Linked DNA regions of Homo sapiens: all the other regions are linked to region 2. The links are contacts of gene promoters, found by promoter capture Hi-C in blood cells and fetal thymus (Javierre and others, 2016). All regions are on one chromosome and are shown on one strand. Each heading gives the region's core, a stretch centred on a gene start or on the middle of the fragment in contact. The rest is flanking DNA. Distances are from core to core; before and after follow the strand shown.

Region 1 (2,700 bases), core at 171-2,670, 830 kb before region 2:
AAGGTTTATAAACGCACCAATCAGCATGCTGTAAAAACGGACCAATCAGCACTCTGTAAAACAGACCAATCAGCTTTCTGTAAAATGGACCAATCAGCTCTCTGTAACATGGAACAATCAGCAGGATGTGGGTGGGGCCAAATAAGGGAATAAAAGTTGGCAACCCGAGCCAGCAGCAGCAAGTGGGTTGGGTTAGTTTCCACAGTGTGGAAGCTTTGATTTTTCGCTATTTGCAATAGATTTTGCTGTTGCTCGCTTTGTGGGTCCACAATACGTTAAGAGCTGTAACATTCCCTTGGAAGGTCTGCAGCTGGCTTTGCTCTTGAAGCCGGTGAGACCACGAGTCCACCAGAATGAACGACTCCGTAGGCGCCACCTTTAAGAGCGTTAACACTCACTGTGAAGGTTTGTGGCATCGCTCCTGAAGTCAGTGAGACGACGAACCCAGCAGAAGGAAGAAACTTTGGACACATCTGAGCATGTGGTGGTACAAACTCTTGACACACCATGTTTAAGAACTGTAACACTCACCATGAGGGTAGGGGGCTTCGTTCTTAAAAGTCAGCGACATCAAGAACCCACCGGAAGGAACCAATGCTTGGACACAGTAATTCATGCACAGGGTTTAAGGCTTTTGCTGCCAGAAGTGCTTGGCTCTGTGTGTGTGTGTGTGTGTGTGTGTGTGTGTGTGTGTGTGTGTATTGGTCTAGGACACACACAAAGTGTGTGCTGCCTAGTTCAGCTTCATGTGTTTCCTACCTCAGAGAAGAGATGGTTTTTCTAAGACCGGTTCTTGGAATTTTGTAATGCGGAATCGGCAGGTGCGCAGAGACATCCGAGACTGAGGGCTGGAGGAGGAGGGGAGGACTAAGAAAAAAGCCCAATGGGAGTGGAGAGGGAACAGTCCCTCCACAAAGAAAGAGTGGGAGGGGTGAGGAGAGAGGATGCTGACAATCAGAGCCCAAGAAAAGCAGAAAAATAAGAACCCAGGAGCGGGAGAGAAGGGAGTCAGATAAAATGGGTTTCCCATAACCTGTAGATTGGTTCTTATGTGCTTTTAGACTGGCATTTCTTAAATTCGTATTTGCTGTTATGTCTGCTGTTCTTGACTATGACTCCTTAGAGCTGCGTGGGTCTTCAGCTCAGAAGATTTTCTCAGTCCTAGTCCTGCTCTTGCCTTACAGCTGACGAAATGCCAGCTCAGAGAAATAAAATCAGTGGCCTCAGTATGCACCACAATTTAGAGCTGAACTTTGATTCCTCTGCCTATATTAGTCCAATGTAGACTCTACTACCCATGCTAAAAATATGCTTGTTCCTAAACATGCTCCCAGCCACATCCCTCCCTACCCCGACATGCCTCCTTATGCTGTAAGTTTTACTGGAAAGATAAAAAACCATATACACACTCTTCAGTAGAGAGCATTTACATGTCTGAAGAGAAAGTGCCCCACAACAATAGAAAACGTTCCCAAAATGAACTCAGTTCTGGGGCTGGAAGCTGGGATGCATGCAGCTACAGCAAAGGCCTTACCTTGAGGAGACACTCAAGGTAAGTGTCTCCTTACCTTGAGGAGACACTTGTGAAGTTAGAAGGGACAGACATTGTTTAAAGGGCACACGTGTCTGAGCAGGACTCACATTCCATCCAACAGATGGCAGTAGCCACATATTTTTTTAAATAAGCACATAGAAGTCCAACGTTCAGAAGAAAAAAGAACCAGTGAAATGAGATGTAAAATCTTTCTGTCCTCATCAAAAACCAAGTTTTCATTCCGTTTGAATTAACATGAAATTCAAACAACAACAAAACCCATCTACCTAAGCACTGGTAGATAAAATCAACTAACAGCCCTCTAATGACATGTTACTGATTACAAATTATAACTATTTTTGTGTCTTGTTATTAGAAAGATGAAAGAGGGTTAATAATTGCTGTAATATGTTGGGTTTAGCTAACTTAAGTGAGTGGTTGAATATGGTTTCCATTTTCCACATACCAGCATTCTTGAAGTAAAAAATAACGGAACCTCTTGGTTGCTAACAATCTTTTATCCACCACCTAATTCTTAGAATTCTTTACACTTCTGAACATGACTTCCATTCTAGTTTTCAAATTGAGAAAGCACCTATATTAAAAAGCACTGGTTCTCTCCCCATTTGGGATTACACTTAAATGTATAAGGTAGAGAAAAGTCTAATAGAGAACATAATTGATGTCAGTTGTAATTGTATTCTGATGTCAAATACATAGTAAAATATGAGCTTATTTTTGTGGCACTGCATTAAAAATACATTTCTTGAGCTCCTTTTTTGGTTCATTCTATTTTTATCCCCCGTTTTTTCCTTGGCACTTCCTATCCATGATTTTCTGCATATCTAATATCGCGCAGAGGAAAAAGCACTGCCTGGACCTGTCCACCAGCAAGCGGACATTGCTTTGCATAAACAGGCAGAGGGGCAGGCACCTCAAGGGACTCGCAGAAGTGCCTGGGTATTTTTAAATACTTGAGGAGAACACAAGGATGCCTGTCGGACATCTCAGGAACTGCTAGCTCCAGGTAAATTGGTTTTAACATTAGGTTGCTAAATTTCCTTCCATGATGTCATATCTTTGCAAAGCTTGGTTTTTGGTGACTGTTGTGATAGTTGTGGGGGAAAAAGTGATATGTCCTATCTAATTCCAAGGTTTTACATATT
Region 2 (2,700 bases), core at 119-2,618:
GGGCAAAGGAGCTGAGACCTGGGAAGTGTAAGTGGTCAGGGGCAGGGAGTCTGTGGTCTGCACAGGTTGGGAGAAAGAAGGGGCAGGCTGGGTGATGCTGCTGTTTGTCATGGTCTCTGTTTTATCCTCCAAGATTCTGCTATTCCTTTTATACTCAGGGCTCTTCTCCAAGGTGTGTAGGTCTCCCTCAACAGACAGGCAGGGGAGCTTAGCAGGTGGGGGAAGCTCACCTCGATCCCACAGCAATGGCAGTGAAGGGGGCAGCGGCAGCAGCAATGGAATCGACATTTTCCTTTTGCAGGGCCTGTTGCGGGCAGCTCTGGGAGGAGCAGCGCTCCTTGGAGGAATACAGAAAGGCTTCTCATCAGGCATCCTCTTTCCGGACATCAGCGGAATCGGCAAGCCTAGGGAGCTGGGCGGTGGCTCTTCATTCAGCACTTCCGCAGCCAACTTCTGCTGCAGCAGGGAGCAGCCAACGGCTGGCTCAGGGGGCGCTGTTGCATCCGGATCAGGCTTTCCAAGATGCCGGGCACATCCGGCCTGGCTGTGTGTGCTGGGCATGGCAGGGCCTTCCAAGCAGGAGCTCGCTGGAGACGCCTGGGCCTTCTCACTCATGCTGTTTTCTGAGAACTTGTGGTAGACATTTCCCTCCAGAGGCCCAGGGCTGCATCTGAAGGAGGCCACGTCTCCCTGGGTGCCCTGGGACCTGGATGTGGACGATGCTTCTCCGCTGCTAAGGGGGGTCCTTTTCTCGTCATCCTCCCCTTCGATCTGCACCGGATCCTCATCCTTCTTCACTCTTCTGGGCCCTTCTTGGGCCCACACCTCGGTCTCCTCCAGGAGAGTGGCTGGGATGGGCTTCCTGGCCTTGACCGCCGGCTCACGTGGTGAAGGCAGCAGGAGAGTGAACATGCGGCTGGGAGGAGGGATCCTTACGGAACTGGGGTGTCCAAACCTCGGGGGGTTCCGAGCAGGCAGCATGGGTGTCTTCCTGATGGCCAGCCCCCAACCCACAGCCGGCAGGACCCCCAGAGGGGCGGCCGCAGCCCGAGGGAGAGGACACGGCCTCTTAGGGGCGACGAAGATGCTGGCTGCTGAAGGCCTGCGACGGGCGTTCCGGCGGAACAGGCCGCGGAAAGGGCGCGGGGTGGGTACAGAGTGAGCCCGACCGGGCGGGGAGGCGTCCCGGGACAGGGGAGCGGGGGCGCCACGCCCTGGCCCTGGCAGGGGCCGGCGGCGGCACCCGGGTCTAAATTTACTAAGTAAATTGCCCATTTAGAGCTAGCCGTGCCTCCTACCGTAAAACAGGGTCAGCAGTGGACTCAACTCTCCTCAGCCACCGCCTCCTCTGGCGACCAAGCACAAACTGACTGGCTCTACGCCTGCGACGCCGCCGCGAGGTTCCTCACAGAACCAGGGAGCGCCAGCGGGGGCGCAAAAGGCAGGGGTCAGAGGGCAAAGGGCGACGCCCCGTCGGCCCCAGCTGCCCCAGGACCCCCGGAAGCCCCGCTGCCGGTGGCAGGTGTTGCACCGCGTGGCCTCTATGAGGGAACTGCTGGGGCCTGCGGGCCCATCGCCAGAGCTCTTGTCACCTGGGCGCCGGCTCTGCCTGTTCCTTAGCCCTGGCCCGGCGCTGTTGCACGCAGTGGCCCTGTGTCGGCCGTCCCCATTCCCCGGTTCACAGAGGGCACATCTGCTTCAAGTTAAGCACAGGACAACCTATATCCTGCCAGCCTCCTCTAGGACCTTGGCAGTGCTCTGTGCTGCCTGGAGCCAGGTGTGCCGTCTCTGTGGCGCCAGGGTCACCAGCCAGGCCGTGAGGGTTTCCGAGGAGGGGACGTGGTGCCTTGTCCTGACTAGATGCTACGCCCTACCACATCTCTTCCTGGCAGGCAGGGCCTCTTCACTTCTTTTCACAAATTTGTTTTAAACAACATTTAAGGCTGGGCGCGGTGGCTCACGCCTTTAATCCCAGCACTTTGGGAGGCCAAGGCGGGTGGATCACCTGAGGTCAGGAGTTCGAGACCAGCCTGACCACCATGGTGAAACCCCATCTCTACTAAAAATACAAAAATTAACTGAGCGTGGTGGCACGCACTTGTAATCCCAGCTACTAGGGAGGCTGAGGCAGGAGAATCGCTTGAAAGCGGGAGGTGGAGGTTGCAGTGAGCTGAGATCACCTCACTGCACTCCAGCCTGGGGGAACAGAGCAAAACTCTTGTCTCAAACAAAAACAAAAACAAAAAACCACAACAAACAACAGCAACAACATTTAAGCCTTAGGCTGCTTGCTCCTTGGGTCATTGATATGACAGTGGCCTAGCCAGGCTTCGAACCTGGGCTGTGTGATTCCAGAGCTGGTGCCGTGGCCTGTGTGCCTCCTTGTTATGGACACATCATGTATTCTCATTATTTCCTGTAGTCCTTAGGGTACCTAGCACACAGCACATCTGTATTAAGCACATGCGTTCCTAGGGGGAAGCCCTTACTTCACCTCATAAGTTGGTCATGGCAGGCACTGGGCTCCAGTCTCCTCTGAAGACATGGGGCAGCGACCCCCAATAGTCAGCAAAGCAGCATCCCACACTGTTCTTCTAATTGAGCCTTGCAGCCCAGATTTCCTTTTTGGTCTAGTTTGAAGGATCTAAATATGTAAAGATTATAGTCCAGATCCATTTTGGCCTATCCCGAAAGAAATTC
Region 3 (2,700 bases), core at 181-2,680, 540 kb before region 2:
CGTTGCAGACCTGGCAGTCACATAGCCTGCCTCTGGGCGTGGTGGGCACCCACTGAGGAGCCCTCCCCAAGTGTGCACTAAAAATCACAGCCTGGGGACCTGGGCCATGAGCTTTCACTGGTGGGACCCCATTCATATCCCACACCTCTCAAACACAGAGCTGGGCCACACTCGGCCAATCAAGGGCCACATGGTATCTTCTCGTTTCCTTGGGCCCAAGATCCCGAGACCCTGGAGGTGACCCCTTGGCTAAGAAGGCGGGGTGGCAAATTCCCGGTACAACACCCTAGACAGTGGACCTTCCCACCTCAGAATGCCACTGTTACTGCCACTCAAACATGGAGAACAGGTGACCCCCATGGGACATGGGATGCCCCCTTAGCCCAAAGCCCATGGGTCACAGGACTGGCCTGAAGCACCACCAGGAGCTGGCCAGATCTCAACCTTGACCCAACCCCATTGAAACTGCACCACCCCTGACCAGGCTCAATACGTGCCACTGGGATGGCCCATTGTTCAACAGGATCAGCCCCATTCAGGGTCACAGGTGGGATGAGATCCTTGAACCTCCATGGCCCGACCCCATCACCACCCCCCCCAGGAACATGCCCGGGGACCGAGAGCTCCCAAGTGAAACCCGTGGCACCCTGGAGCCCTTCTGGCCCGCCTCATGTGGCCTGGGCAGTCCTCAAGGCCTGACCTGCACACCAAGTCTCAACTGGGCGATGTCCTGCATGGGGCTGAAGGAACCCTTTGCTATCTGGACCATTGTCATTCCTGCAGATCTTCAGGGAAGGCATCCTCCTCAGGTAAGATTCCCAAGGAAGCCGCCCTCCTGGAGAAACCATCCCTCCCTGATGGGAATTGGGGTCAGCTCCCTGAGGAAACCCTCATGGCCTGAAGTCTGACCCTCAGTGAACCCATGCCCATGATGCCAGCAGGATCCACTCACCTATGTTGGTCAATGCCAGGAGGCCCCCCCTTGGCAGAAGAGCTCACTGAAAGACACAAGGGGAGAACTGGGGCTCAGGGAGGAGCCACCCACGTGCCACTTCACTGGGGAACAGAAAGGCCAACACCAAGCCCGCACAGGGAGCCTGGGCTGCCTCACAGAGGAGTGCAGAGACAGAGTTGGGCCTCCTCCAGATACCTTTCAGGGCCTCCAGGGCTCCAGCCCAAAATACAGTGGCCCTGCCGGAAATCTCGGGATCCCAGCATCCTCCTCCAAATTTCTCACCTAGGTTGGGCCTCAGCGTAATCATTGAGCATGGTAATTTTAAGTCATCACCTCTCTTCAACACAATATAGGGTTCTCATCATTGACCCAACCCAGGGCACCCCCCCTGCCCACACATACATCCAGCGGGACCCGGATGTGCTCACCACAGCTCAGTGCAGGAGATCAAGGGGCCAGGAAGGGCCTGAGCTTCAGTGCACCAGGGGCTGAGCACCTGGCTGACGGACACTTGCCAGGGTCCATTGGTCCTGATGCAAGTCTTCCTTCAGGCTCACCATCTGGATGGACAGGAGGAGGACATGTGTCCAAACAGGGCCTCATACCTCCAGGTGGGGAATGGGGTAAGGGATACCCATGTGATGGGATCCATGTGGAACACTGACCTGTCACGGATACAGGGCACTCTCGGCCCTCCCCATCACCAAACCCTGAAAAAACAGGGCAGGTGGATCACTGGGCTTGGGCAAGACCCCTGGTCTTCATGCTATTGCAGACCTTGAGGGCACATCCAGTGCCCCCTCTGACTTCTCCTTCACACGATCCCAGGGCTGCCCCAGGACCACTGAGCATGGGACAGGGTCACCGACATGCTCATGGCCAACCGAGGAGCCTGGCCCAGAAGCCATGTGCCACCGTGGACATGGAAGTTGCATAGCCTGCCGCTGGGCATGGTGGGCACCTGCCCAGGCACTCTCTCCAAGCCACACCTGAAATCACAGCCTGGAGTACCAGGGCCATGTGCTTTCTCTGGTGGGTCCCCATCCATGCCCCACACATGTCCCAAACACAGATCCGGGCCACCCTTGGCCAATCCTGGGCCACATGGTGTCCTTTCCTTTCCCTAGGCCCAAGACCCTGCCACCCTGGACATGACCCCATGGCACAGAGAGTCTGGGCAGCAAATTCTCAGGATAGGACCATCAACAGCGGGCCTTCCCACCGCACATTCCACTCTTCCAGCCACTCACCCATGGGGAAGGGGTGACCTCCAGCAGGACACAAGCTGTCGACTTGGCCTAAAGCTCACGAGTCCCAGGTCCGGCCCACAGCCTCACCAGGCACTGGCCAGAGCTCAGCCTTGACCCAAACCCAGGGAAACAGCACTGCCCCCCACCAAGCTCAAAGAGGCACCATGGGATGGTCCATAGCTCAACAGGGTCAGTCCCATTTTGGGACATAGTTGGGTACAATCCTTGAATCTCCACGGCCCAATCCCATAGGCTCATTCAAGCACCCCTCTCCAGGGAAAGAGAACTCTTGCATGACCCCCGTGGTGCCCCGGAGGCCCTGTGGCCCCCATCATGTGGCCTCGGCAATCCTCGAGGCCTGACACATGCACTGAGTCTCAGCTGGGAGCTCTCCTGCACGGGGCTGAAGGAAGTCTTTGCTGCCTGGACCACTGTCATCCCTGCAGGGCTTCAGGAAGGCAACATCTTGGGTCCAGTTCCCAAGGAAGCCGCCCT

The links. The method cuts DNA at HindIII sites, captures the fragments that hold promoters and counts their contacts. A CHiCAGO score of 5 or more calls a contact.
Region 1: a contact is called between a fragment that was not itself captured here and the fragment with the promoter of NPAP1 in region 2, in 1 of 17 cell types (M2 macrophages). The highest score is 5.1, in M2 macrophages.
Region 3: the fragment with the promoter of PWAR4 here is called in contact with the fragment with the promoter of NPAP1 in region 2 in 6 of 17 cell types (total B cells, activated CD4 T cells, naive B cells and 3 more); the score reaches 6.5 in total B cells.

The regions. Positions count from the first base shown.
Region 1 is chr15:25,500,946-25,503,645 of GRCh38, reverse strand. It overlaps LINC02250 (long intergenic non-protein coding RNA 2250), which reads left to right. Exons shown (of 5, transcript NR_187215.1): 4 at 2,394-2,561. Among named protein-coding and RNA genes, the nearest start is that of UBE3A, 63 kb to the right of the region's middle. The HindIII fragment of the contact is 2,409 bases long and covers 216-2,624 here.
Region 2 is chr15:24,674,443-24,677,142 of GRCh38, reverse strand. NPAP1 (nuclear pore associated protein 1) reads right to left here and starts at 1,368. Exons shown (of 1, transcript NM_018958.3): 1 at 1-1,368. The coding sequence starts at 1,275. The HindIII fragment of the contact is 3,995 bases long and covers 1-2,700 here.
Region 3 is chr15:25,210,422-25,213,121 of GRCh38, reverse strand. PWAR4 (Prader Willi/Angelman region RNA 4) reads right to left here and starts at 1,430. Exons shown (of 1, transcript NR_022010.1): 1 at 1,089-1,430. SNHG14 (small nucleolar RNA host gene 14) reads right to left here. Exons shown (of 148, transcript NR_146177.1): 102 at 1,384-1,515; 103 at 953-998. SNORD115-23 (small nucleolar RNA, C/D box 115-23) reads right to left here and starts at 1,326; the gene lies at 1,245-1,326. The HindIII fragment of the contact is 4,906 bases long and covers 1-2,700 here.